2 separate regions of the Homo sapiens genome follow, and region 2 is linked to region 1. The links are contacts of gene promoters, found by promoter capture Hi-C in human tissues and cell types (Jung and others, 2019). All regions are on one chromosome and are shown on one strand. Each heading gives the region's core, a stretch centred on a gene start or on the middle of the fragment in contact. The rest is flanking DNA. Distances are from core to core; before and after follow the strand shown.

The links. The method cuts DNA at HindIII sites, captures the fragments that hold promoters and counts their contacts. A contact is called where the count stands out against the background at its distance.
Region 2: a contact is called between a fragment that was not itself captured here and the fragment with the promoter of EVA1C in region 1, in 3 of the 25 tissues and cell types used here (aorta, dorsolateral prefrontal cortex and thymus).

The regions. Positions count from the first base shown.
Region 1 is chr21:32,411,112-32,416,218 of GRCh38, reverse strand. It overlaps EVA1C (eva-1 homolog C), which reads right to left and starts at 3,513. Exons shown (of 8, transcript NM_058187.5): 1 at 3,206-3,513. The coding sequence starts at 3,365. The HindIII fragment of the contact is 9,144 bases long and covers 804-5,107 here.
Region 2 is chr21:32,640,527-32,646,045 of GRCh38, reverse strand. SYNJ1 (synaptojanin 1) reads left to right here. Exons shown (of 33, transcript NM_203446.3): 25 at 257-400; 26 at 1,040-1,078; 27 at 2,589-2,636; 28 at 3,913-3,951; 29 at 4,080-4,150. Among named protein-coding and RNA genes, the nearest start is that of CFAP298-TCP10L, 31 kb to the right of the region's middle. The HindIII fragment of the contact is 6,056 bases long and covers 1-5,519 here.

The sequences.
Region 1 (5,107 bases), core at 2,264-4,763:
CACACACACACAAAACAGTAAGTACTGAGGGACCATCACAAACTAAATACAAGAGACACACTGAAACACCACTCTTTAAGGCAAAAATATGAGGATCCCTTGCTTTTTATGGCTGCTACTCAAGAGGGCACCCCTCCCTCCTCTCAGCACTCATCCTCAAGCTCCAGCTCCCTGTCTTGTTCTCTGAACAAAGAACTATGGGCATAGCATTATACTTCTGGGGTTTGTTTTGTTTTTTAAGTCAATGATGAATTTAGACGTCTCAAGCCAAATCCTCAATTTGAGAATGCAGTCAAATGAAGAGAACTCTATCCCAAAGAGGAAAGTGGATGAAAGCCAAGCACATTTGAGTATGAGATTAAGGATCAGAGGCACTAATTTTGCATGAACTTCTCTTGCCTTCGCTGGGATTCATTTTTAATGCAGTGATGATAGCCTTCCAGTGGCCGCTGGCGACATCTCAAAATCTTTGGAGATGAGAGAGAAGGCGGTGTTTGGGGAGCCTGTTTACTAGCAAGCTTGGAGGTGATTAGAACAAGTCACGAGCATGGACAGGGAGGAGGAGGGGGCCATGATGCTGCCTCTGGCTTATTAAGAGTGAGATCGATGCTGGAATCCCTGAGGGCAAAAAAAAATCAATGACCCAGGAAAACGACACCAGCTGACAGCCCCAGGAAAAGGCTCAAGGAAGAGCCGCAAAGAAGAGAAAGGCTTAAGGAACTTTCCAAAACTCTGCACTGCTAATCTCCTGGGGGGAGAAAGGGGCCTATATTGTACAGACAATGGCTGGGACCCCTGACATTCTGGCACTTTCTTTCACATGGATACACCATCCTCCCTCCTCCTTCACAGGGCAGAGGGATCCCAAGTTTCCTCTATCCTCTGCTAGTTTTTGATGTTCCCTTTATTTAGAAAAACAGGCAAGTATCTGCATTGTCAAACACTGCTCTCTAGCCCTGGTTATTGTGATCAGGCTCTGCAGGGGAGGATCCACTGTCTCCTTCCAGGCCTCAGTTTTGGTTTCTATGCACTCCTTCAAGTTCATAAAAAGGAACAGGACCGACTGTCCCAGGAACACAGGCGGCAAGCTTTGAGGCCACATGGGGTTCGCGTCAGCTGAAACACTGAACCGAACAATAAGATGGTCATCTTTGGAGCTTAGGAATTTGCAGAGGGAGGGCGGCTAAAATCCAAGTCAAATGAGCCAACTTTGGAAGATGATCTTTCTTTCTCCCTGAGATTTTTCTAATATTTCCCTGACCTCACATGATATAGAATTAAGGTTTAAATTTAAGTGCATCAGTGGTTTGGGAGGACATTATATTTCCTTTCTTCTCCCCAAAAGGCTTCTGACATGTTCTGCCTAATCTTCAGATCTCTGGAGAGCATCACTGATGAGAGGAAAAATGGGGGCTCGTTGTGGGTGGCAATATCACCACCTACTGCTGGCTCAGGGAGTTTGAAACCCTGGAATTTAGGTTCGTATGGAAAGCAGAAGAAAATGCCTTTTATCATTTATACTATTTAGAATAACATGTATCAAATCATTCATTTTACTAAGGAGTTGATAGCTCAACTCCACTGTATGTAACAGTTGCTAGATACAGACAATTCCAAACTTGGGTGGTAATCTATAGACTGTTACAAGTATTGCAACTGCTTCCCTAAAGCAACAGAACTCTAAGTGTCTATAATCTGTGAAAACAATCTAATGGTTACACTGCAATTTGCCTAAAGCAATATTTGTTCAGTTGCAATGATGTCACAAACACAAAAAGGCTTGTCAGTTTTCAATTATTTCCTTAGAATTCAGAGCTAGATGGTGGCTGAACTCAGAACTGCTTTCCATAGCTCAAATCAGCTAATACAGAGCTTTTCTAGCAGCCAAGAAAGTTCTAGTAGTACAAAAAAAAAAGTTAATAGCCCTTGAAAAGTCTGATGCATTTCCCCACAACTCTTACCACAGAGTTCTGATCCTGGGATGCTTGATTTTAAGGGCCGTGGGTGGCTTGCCAAATAGGCCTTATCTTGGCTTCCTTTGCTAGGTAGGAATACTGCCTTGATATTACATATTCAAAGCAAAGAACCTCTGACCTAAGGGCTCTCCACTAACAATGACATTCTCTGTAAGTAAACTAGAACCCCATCTCAACTTCTGGTTTGCCCTTGTTCTTTGCTATGTACTAGCCTACTGCACAAACAGGACTGAGGAGGACTCCCTTTACCACCATTATGTTGCAAAAGACTCTGCACTGAGGACCCGATAGGGACCGACTGTGCAAAGCCTGAACTTGGCAGAAGATCCCTGGAGAAGGAGGAGTATGGGGCTCAGAGCTGCTCCCTAAGCTGGGCTGGGGAAGGCTGAAGGCCTCCAGCCTTGCCAGAGGGAGATCCAGGTGTGCTTCAGCGGCAAGGACATGTGTTACCTTAAGCAACTGCAGCGCTAACTTAAGCATGTGCTCCTATGGCTATCGTCAACCTAGAAATCCCTTTCACTTTGGGGCGTCACACCTGTAAGCTCAGAACTATCTGAGATCCGCTGCGAGAGCCTGGATCACGATTCCCAAAAAGAAAAGCCTCCTAGTTTATTCGAGAGTAGGAAGTCATTATTTTCTGTGAAGGAAACTGGAATTGGAGAGGGAGGACCCTGGTACACTTTGGCAGAGAGGCTCCTCTCTCTTATCTAAGTATCTCCTCATCCCTCACTGCCTTTCCACCAGACCTCCAGTCCCCGCGGGCTTCCCTTTCTACCTGCCAATGTGGACTCGAGGTCAAGTGTCCCCTGGGCTAGTCTCCTTACATGGGCAAACGGGCTACGCGGGTGACAAACGCGGCGCAACGCCTCCGACCACAACACGTGTATTTTACAGCGCTGGGCGCGGCACAGGGCTCAGTTTAAGGAGCCTCCATAGAACGAGCGTGGCTCAGGACCAGGTCCCTAATGCTAGGAAATTGACGAGGTCAACAGCAGGGCGAGAAACTCTGAATACATTACACACCCTTCCTTCTTGGGAGTGGCAGTCCCCCGTCGCCACTTCACTCGCAGCCATCTATATGCCAAGGGCTCACACCAGACAAGTGTCTGTGAGCACGCCTCAACTTTAATCCTACCCCGCCGTGTCCACTGGTGCGGCTGCCCCCAGTCGAGGGTTCACCTGGGCGCTCCGCGGTGCCGGGGGCACACAGCCAGGGAGGGCGCTCTTACCAGAGAAGTCGGTGAGCGCTGAGATCTCTTTGGAGCAGACCAGGACAGTGCAGTAGAAGAGGCGCAGGAGCTGCCCCGGCGGCTCTACCTGCCGGCGGAGGCCGGGATGCTGCACGGGCTGGGGCGTCGGCGGTTGGCGTGCGCGTCCCGGCAGAAGCATCGTGCGCTGCGCGGCGGGGCGGAGGCGCAGGCCCGGGACGCGCTGGGGGTCGCAGGGCTAAGGACGGCGTCACATGGCGGGGAGAATCGATGGCCAGCGGCTCCGCGGCCCCCCGCCGCCTCCCTGCCCAGGCTGCCAGAGCCTCCTCCCCTGCGCGGGCCAGCCCAGGCGCCCCAGCAAAGGGGAGGGGGCGGAGAACTGGGGCGGGGCGAGGATCCCCGAAAAGGATCCGCGTAGTTTCCCCGAGAGGAAATCTCCGTTGCCGCCGTGCCGGAGGAAGCGAGGGGGGCCGTAGGGAAAGCGCAGCCTTCGCGCGCCCCGCGGCTGCCCAGGCCGATCCCTGGCGCGCTGCCCACCGCGGAGGGCGCCCCCAGTAGCGCGCCCCGGGCCGCGCACCTTGAGCGCCTTCCACACCCGGGAAACAGCCGGGCACCCGTGGCCCTGCCCGCGCTGGCCGGGTGCCAGCCTCGCCCTGGCGGCAGAAGGAGCGCGGCCGGTGCCCGTGACGCACTTTGGAGCCAGCGCCGCGCGTGCAGCTGGGGCGCCCCCGGGGCGGGGCCGATCGGGGGCCGCAGGAAGGTGGGGTCCTGGAGGCGTGGGATCGCACCGCTGCCATCCCCGCCACCCGCCGCGCGCCACGTGCAGTCACCCGGCACATACAGTTATCGCCATTCCACAGAAGAGGAGACTGAGCCCCGGCGCCGTGCCCAAGCTCTCGCAGCCAGGACGGCGACGAGCTGGAGGTCTCAAAACCGGTCAGATGGCTCCGGAGCCGGGATCTTTAGCTCCAGCTCGGCTTCCTTTGGGTGCTGGTTGTCCGCAGCGCTGGGGGATCTGACACTGCACCGGCGCAAACAGCCGCCGAGCGCTAATAATTGGGCTTTGTTTTAAAGTGGGCCACAGCATCTTTCTGAACCTCTAGACTGTGCGCGGGGTGACCCACGTTCGGACGCCCAGCCAGTGGCCTAGGAGTGGCCTGCGTAGCCCCAACTCAAGGGTATCGAGGACAAGTGCGCGAGGGGCTCCGTGGCTGCTTGCCGGGTGCGGGTACCTGGCGCCCAGCGACCCAAACCCTATGGATCGCGCGGGGCCGGCGGAAGGGAGGAGGGCGGGCGCTAGGCACACAGTGTTCCCGAACCCGGCGGGAGGGCCTGCCAAGTTCGCGGCGGGCGTGACGCGGAAACGTAGATAATGAGGCCCAGGGCGGGGCCGGACGCACTGCCCCGCGGGCTCCAGAGCTGCGAACGCCCCAGAGTGTGCAGGGAGGCCTGCAGAAAGAAAATGCGGCTGAGGGTCCCCGTGGGACCCACTCAGAGGTGGGCCGTAAAGATCCCGGAAGGGTGGATGGCATTAGATACCACCTAGTACTCCAGCAAGGGCTGGGTCACCGAATTGGGATCTCGGCCTCTTCTTCCAGTCTGGGGAAAAGTGTGTTAAATGCTAAACATCAGTGTTTATCGAGTGAGGCCCAGCCTGTCTGGCATAATGATTTTTAAAATCTACATTCAAATATTAAATAAAAACTCAACCTCCCCAATAACATTTGAACATAAATATTAGTGTGCGCTCTCTAGGTTAGGGAAACTGAAGCTGGGAGTGTGGGTAAGGATGCCCAGCACTTAGGAGCCACAGGGTAAGTAATGTTTGTCCAAAACTCGGGTCCCTCCTGTACTTTCCATTCTGTCTGTTCATTCATCCAGTTTAGATATGAATTGGTACCAACGTGTGCCAGGTTCTGCGCT
Region 2 (5,519 bases), core at 1,754-4,253, 230 kb before region 1:
AGGGCCACTTAGTAAATTAGCTTTCAGCACCTGAGGCCTAGGTAAGAAGTCAGCACAGAGGTAGCATTATTGCTGCCATGGTACCAAAGGGCAGTTTAATAGTAGACTGCTTTTGTTATTCATACTGAAAATACATGCCCTTTCTTTACACCATTGTGCACATTTTATAGAACATTACACATATATATGAAGGACTGTTCCCTTCTGTCAACAGCTACTTAGAAGCTGATCTTCTTACCTCCTGTGCGCTTTTTAGGTTCTCCTATTGACGCGCAGCCAGCAACGCCGCTGCCGCAGAAAGACCCCGCCCAGCCCTTGGAGCCCAAGCGGCCGCCGCCGCCCCGCCCGGTCGCCCCTCCCACACGCCCGGCTCCCCCACAGAGACCTCCTCCGCCTTCAGGTGACAACCTTTTATTTCCATTTCTGCTAGATGTAAAATTCTTCACTCTATTTTAAAATGTTTTGCATGTTTTCCAATCTCTAGCTTCTGGATTTTACAGTTTTTTCTATCATTATTGCTATTTCTTAGCTTTTCTCTAAAGAACATGGTAGGCGCAACAGACAAGGTAGAGTGTTTGCAGAGTAGATTCCTCTAAGGTGTTTTCACAGCTGCCTTTAGCTGCCTTCTCACCAGCCAGCCAGAGAGGTTTATTTTGTTTTTGCTAATTTGATCTAGTTAGGCATGTAAACTGTTCTTAGGTAAAATTAGGTTTAATTTTTTTCAAAATCCTCATTTCTGGATGATTTATAAGCATAAAATAATTAAAATGTACTAATTTCTGTAAAAGTATAATAAAACTGGAGAGCATACGTATTAATGTACAATTGTATGTATTTGTTTAATGTTCTTTTAAATTAAATATAGTGCTGTTACTTCAATTATAAGCATATGCATTGAATAATAGTTTTTGTAGTACGTAGATAATATGTAATTCCTGCATGATACTTGATGTCATGGATACTATAGCAATCTTTGACATTTCACTTCTGTATTTAATGTCATTTCCTTTCTGCTGCCTATTTTCTTATGAACTATAAGGGGCTAGGAGTCCTGCACCCACTAGAAAGGAATTTGGAGGTAACCATTTACATTTGTTAGCATGTGTGAATCGTGGTTCATTAATGTTTTACACCTGAAAGACATTTTAGATTTGTTTGATAAAAGTCAAAATGAATGACATTCTAGTTTAAAACTAATCCACAAATAAAACTAATAAAGGCTTTCATTTCCCAGGTAGGCTGGGATTGTTCATCAGGCCTAATTTTTTTTTTAATAAATGTGGTCGATTCATTTACAAAGATTTAATACCCAAAAGTTATATTAATTTTAAAAGTCATTCAGGTACAGTAAATACAGAACATTTCCCAAGTATCTGATTAGTGATACATTTATTTTCTAGTGGAAAAGCTTTTGGATTAGCAAAGAACTGTATGATTTTCTTTTCCTTTCTTCATAAGGAAATTTTTATTCACAAAGGGTCACTTTTTGTTTGAAGTATAGTTTATTTGGTTTACATGAAAACTCACAGAGCTCAGTTGGAGTTATACATTTGACAAGTTTATTTAATCTAAATCTCAAGAAAAGATGAGATGAGTTTTCACAATTCCTCAGAAGAACTTTTACAAATCCAGTGTTACTAAGGCTCACTGTGCATGTGTAGCCTGGTCTGTTTCTATTGTAGCTTGCCTAGTGACATGGCTGAGCAATTCAGGTCTTACTACAGACTGACTTTGCCTGTGTGTAGATCTTAATGACTGCGTGTGATAAGAATAGCTAAATTATTTCAGCATTACAGCTTCTGCCGAATACAGCTAAGTGATCATTTCTCCATTGACCTACAGAAAACATTTAATTTTTCCCTTTTCAAGCTCCTGCTTTTATAGAAAACATTTAATTTTTCCCTTTTCAAGCTCCTGCTTTTATTTAAATTTCCATGATAATTTTTGCTTATCTTCTGCTTTAATTAGGAAAACATCCTGTAGAAAATAAATTTAAAATGAATCTGTCAAAAGTTAGGCAAGCCAGTGGATTACAGTGAAATCTGTCTTAATTTTAAAAATTGCTCCCCTTCATAATTCTTTTGTAAGTAGTGTTTGCAACATGTTTTTTCATCCTATAAACAATAATTCCTTTACGTCATTATAGTACATTAGAGTTTTTAAAATTAATGCATCAAAAACTAACTTCAAAAGACTTACGTAGTCTCATAGAAATTTATGATTTCTTTCCTTTTGACTATCAAATATCAGAGTTTTTACTTGCTCTGGATATAAGGAGTAAGATGATTTTTAAAGCAAAGGTCTTCATTAAACATATTTTTTAAATTCCCTACTGGTAGTAATTGCATACATAAAAAGAAAACTGTCATCCTGTTTCTACTCTTCTGTTTGAGTAAAGGGAGGATTCAGATTTGGGCCAAGCATCTAAAGTCACTTTGGTTTGTATTGATATCTTTGAAGAAATTTAAAGCAATAAAAGAGCCTTTTTGCAAAAGTGAGTTTACTATGGAAATTGTCTTGTGTGCCTGCCTTTCATTCTGTGCTGTGGGCCCTGAACAATATATAGTTTCTGTTCTTTCTCTAAAAAGGTATTGGAGCCCCTCCCAGTCCTGGGGTAGCTAGGAGAGAGATGGAAGGTAACAAGACTCTTGCATTATAGAAGTGGTTCTCTCATTTTATTTCTCAGTGTCAGCGCCCCACCTCCCCACCCCGCAGTGTTTGCAGGCATACTAAATCTTTTCTTGGTCCAGCTGTAAACTTCTCTTTCCCCTCCTTATGTATACCTTGTATTTTTTCCTCTCTTCATTCTATGTCACCTATAGTTTCTAATGGATATCCATTTAATTTCCCTGAGATCCTTAATGTTGTTTGTACTCTGTTTCATATATAGTTTATATATGCCCAGGTTGTGAAATTACTGTTTAAGAATGTCTTCAAAATTCTTTTCAGAATAAGTAAAATATTTAGAAATGTACTTTACTAATCTGAAGTTTTAAAAATTAATGATTATAATTAAACCCTATTAATTCAGATCCAAGAATATAGTATTTTGTAGTTGATTTCAGATAACATAGCTATTTTATAGATTAGCACTGAGCCAGATTTGTTTAAAAGACCTTTAAGACTAGAGGCCATTTGTTATGATTTTAGTTATTAAAAGGCTGATGTATTTCTTATAACAATTGTACTTGAATTTCTTTACAAAAAGGAGAGTTTATTTAAGATGCTGCCCTTGATAGTCACTCCTACTCCTTTTGGCTCCAAGAGTAATTTATTTCATTTTATCCTTCAGCTACCTTTCTAATGAGTTTGAACATATTTTTAACACTGTCTTCCATAAGGCAGATATTTGGTAATAACATATGCCTGTCTTCTGTCTTAATGATGGGATTTTGTTATAGAAATCCGAAAGATCTCATCATAAGATAACCTTATCCACAGTGACATCTACAGCGTGAAGCCCTAAAGTATTGCTACTAGGAGCCTCTTGTGTAATTTGACAAATGCAGTCCTGTCTGTTGCTCAGAAGCCACTTGTCTGCCAGACTCTAAGGGGCAGCAGTGCCGCATCTTGTGACCATTCACACAGCTGACTGTATGTTTTCAAGGTTCACGAGAGAGTTCTATGGGGAATGCCACCCTAAAAGTGGTCCCATGAGTGAGATATCAAACTAAAGTCACCACTTGTCTCCCATAAAGGTCTATCTAAATATTGTAATTTTTCTCTCTTTTGGAGTATTTCATTCAGGACTGATAATACCCTTCATCATTATACAAAGCAAAGTGCTTTGTTTTGTTACCATCTCATGCCCCCATTTCTGCTGGTAATGAAGCAGAACAGCAAGCTGATGTTATGCAATATTGCTTAATTGTTAACTTACAACTAATTTTTTTTTCCCTTCTTGCTTCAAAGCACCCAAAAGCCCTGGAACAACAAGGAAAGATAATATAGGTAAAAACACTTGAATGTAGCTATTCACCCTTAAAACTGGACCGTGAAATAGACACTTGGAATATAAGTACATGGTTTCTTGTTTATTTTTTTAAACTTAAATATATGATATGATGTCTTTGTTCCAGGACGCAGTCAGCCTTCACCTCAAGCAGGACTTGCAGGCCCAGGACCTGCTGGATACAGTACAGCCAGACCGGTAGGTAAAACCTCGCCTGGGGCCAAGGGGTCTCGGTTCTAAGTCCTGTTTACTACTAGTCAGTTTTGTTACCTTGGAGAAATCATGTGACCCTTCAAGGCCTCAATTTCCTCATCTCTAAAATGAGGGAATTGCACTTGATGATCTTCCGACTCTAACATTATTTTAACATACTCTTCAAAAATAACAAACTTCATTATTTGGATAAAAGTGATACACTTAAAACAATTATGGTCACTAAATAAATATCTTAAGAGTCTCAGTATATGAGGAAATGATGGATTTGGGCAGCTTTTTATCATTTTACCTGAGTAATTAATGAAGATATAAAGTAATCCTTCATTAAAAAGGATTTTAATTACATTTCAGAAAAAAAAATGATAAATTCAGTATAGTAAAACTGGTTCTAAAGGTTTTTTTCTCTTTTTGGTTTTTTTCTTGATCAGGTTCATCATATTCCGTAAAGGTATTAGAAATAGGAGAGTAGATGTTGTTACAGGATTTTTCCCTACCTGATGAATGTGTCTTTTCTGTATGTTTATATGTTCTCTTATACACATAGGTTTTTTATTATTTGAAAACTTTCTCTGGACTATAACAGGTAATCAAGAACAGAGAGAAAGAGCAAATAGAAACCAGTAATCAGTGACTTAGGCTAGTCCAGTAGGAGCTGGGACTACTGAGAGGCCCATATCTGAAGAGTAGGAAACTGAGAGCTATTACTGTACCTAGAAATTAAGATTATTAAGATTGTGAGAACTGAGGAAACCACTTCCTATGAAGATAGAAGCTTTTTGTCTTTTCTGTTGTAGCTGTCCACTTAACAATCTGAAGGTTCTTTTTTATATGTAATATTACTCTTCAAATATTTATCCTCCTTTTTTCAAAAAAAGGGAAATTTGCCATTCACTGATCCCATGACCACACTTGGCACAAGAACTTTCTTGATTCTGTTGAATACCATAAGTATAGGAAAAGAAAGTCAGGATTTTTGTGAGTTTAAAAGTTCATATTTTGCTTAAAATAAATATTGTTAGCTTAGATCCTTCAGCAAACATATGAAAATAGAAAAAATATTTTTCACTGATGAGTCTTTCAGTGTATTTAATTCGGAATATTGAGTTAGTCATTCAAAAGTTGTACTTCTGTGTTTAAAAGCAATATATATGGCTGGGTGGCAGTGGCATGCACCTGTAGTCCCAGCTACGCAGGGGACTACATTGGAAAGATCGCTTGAACCCAGGAGTTCAAGTCTAGCTGGAGCAACATAGCAAGACCCCATCTCTTAAAAAACAAATCTTGACCAGGTACGGTGGCTCACGCCTGTGGTCCCAGCACTTTGGGAGGCCGAGGCGGGTGGATCATGATG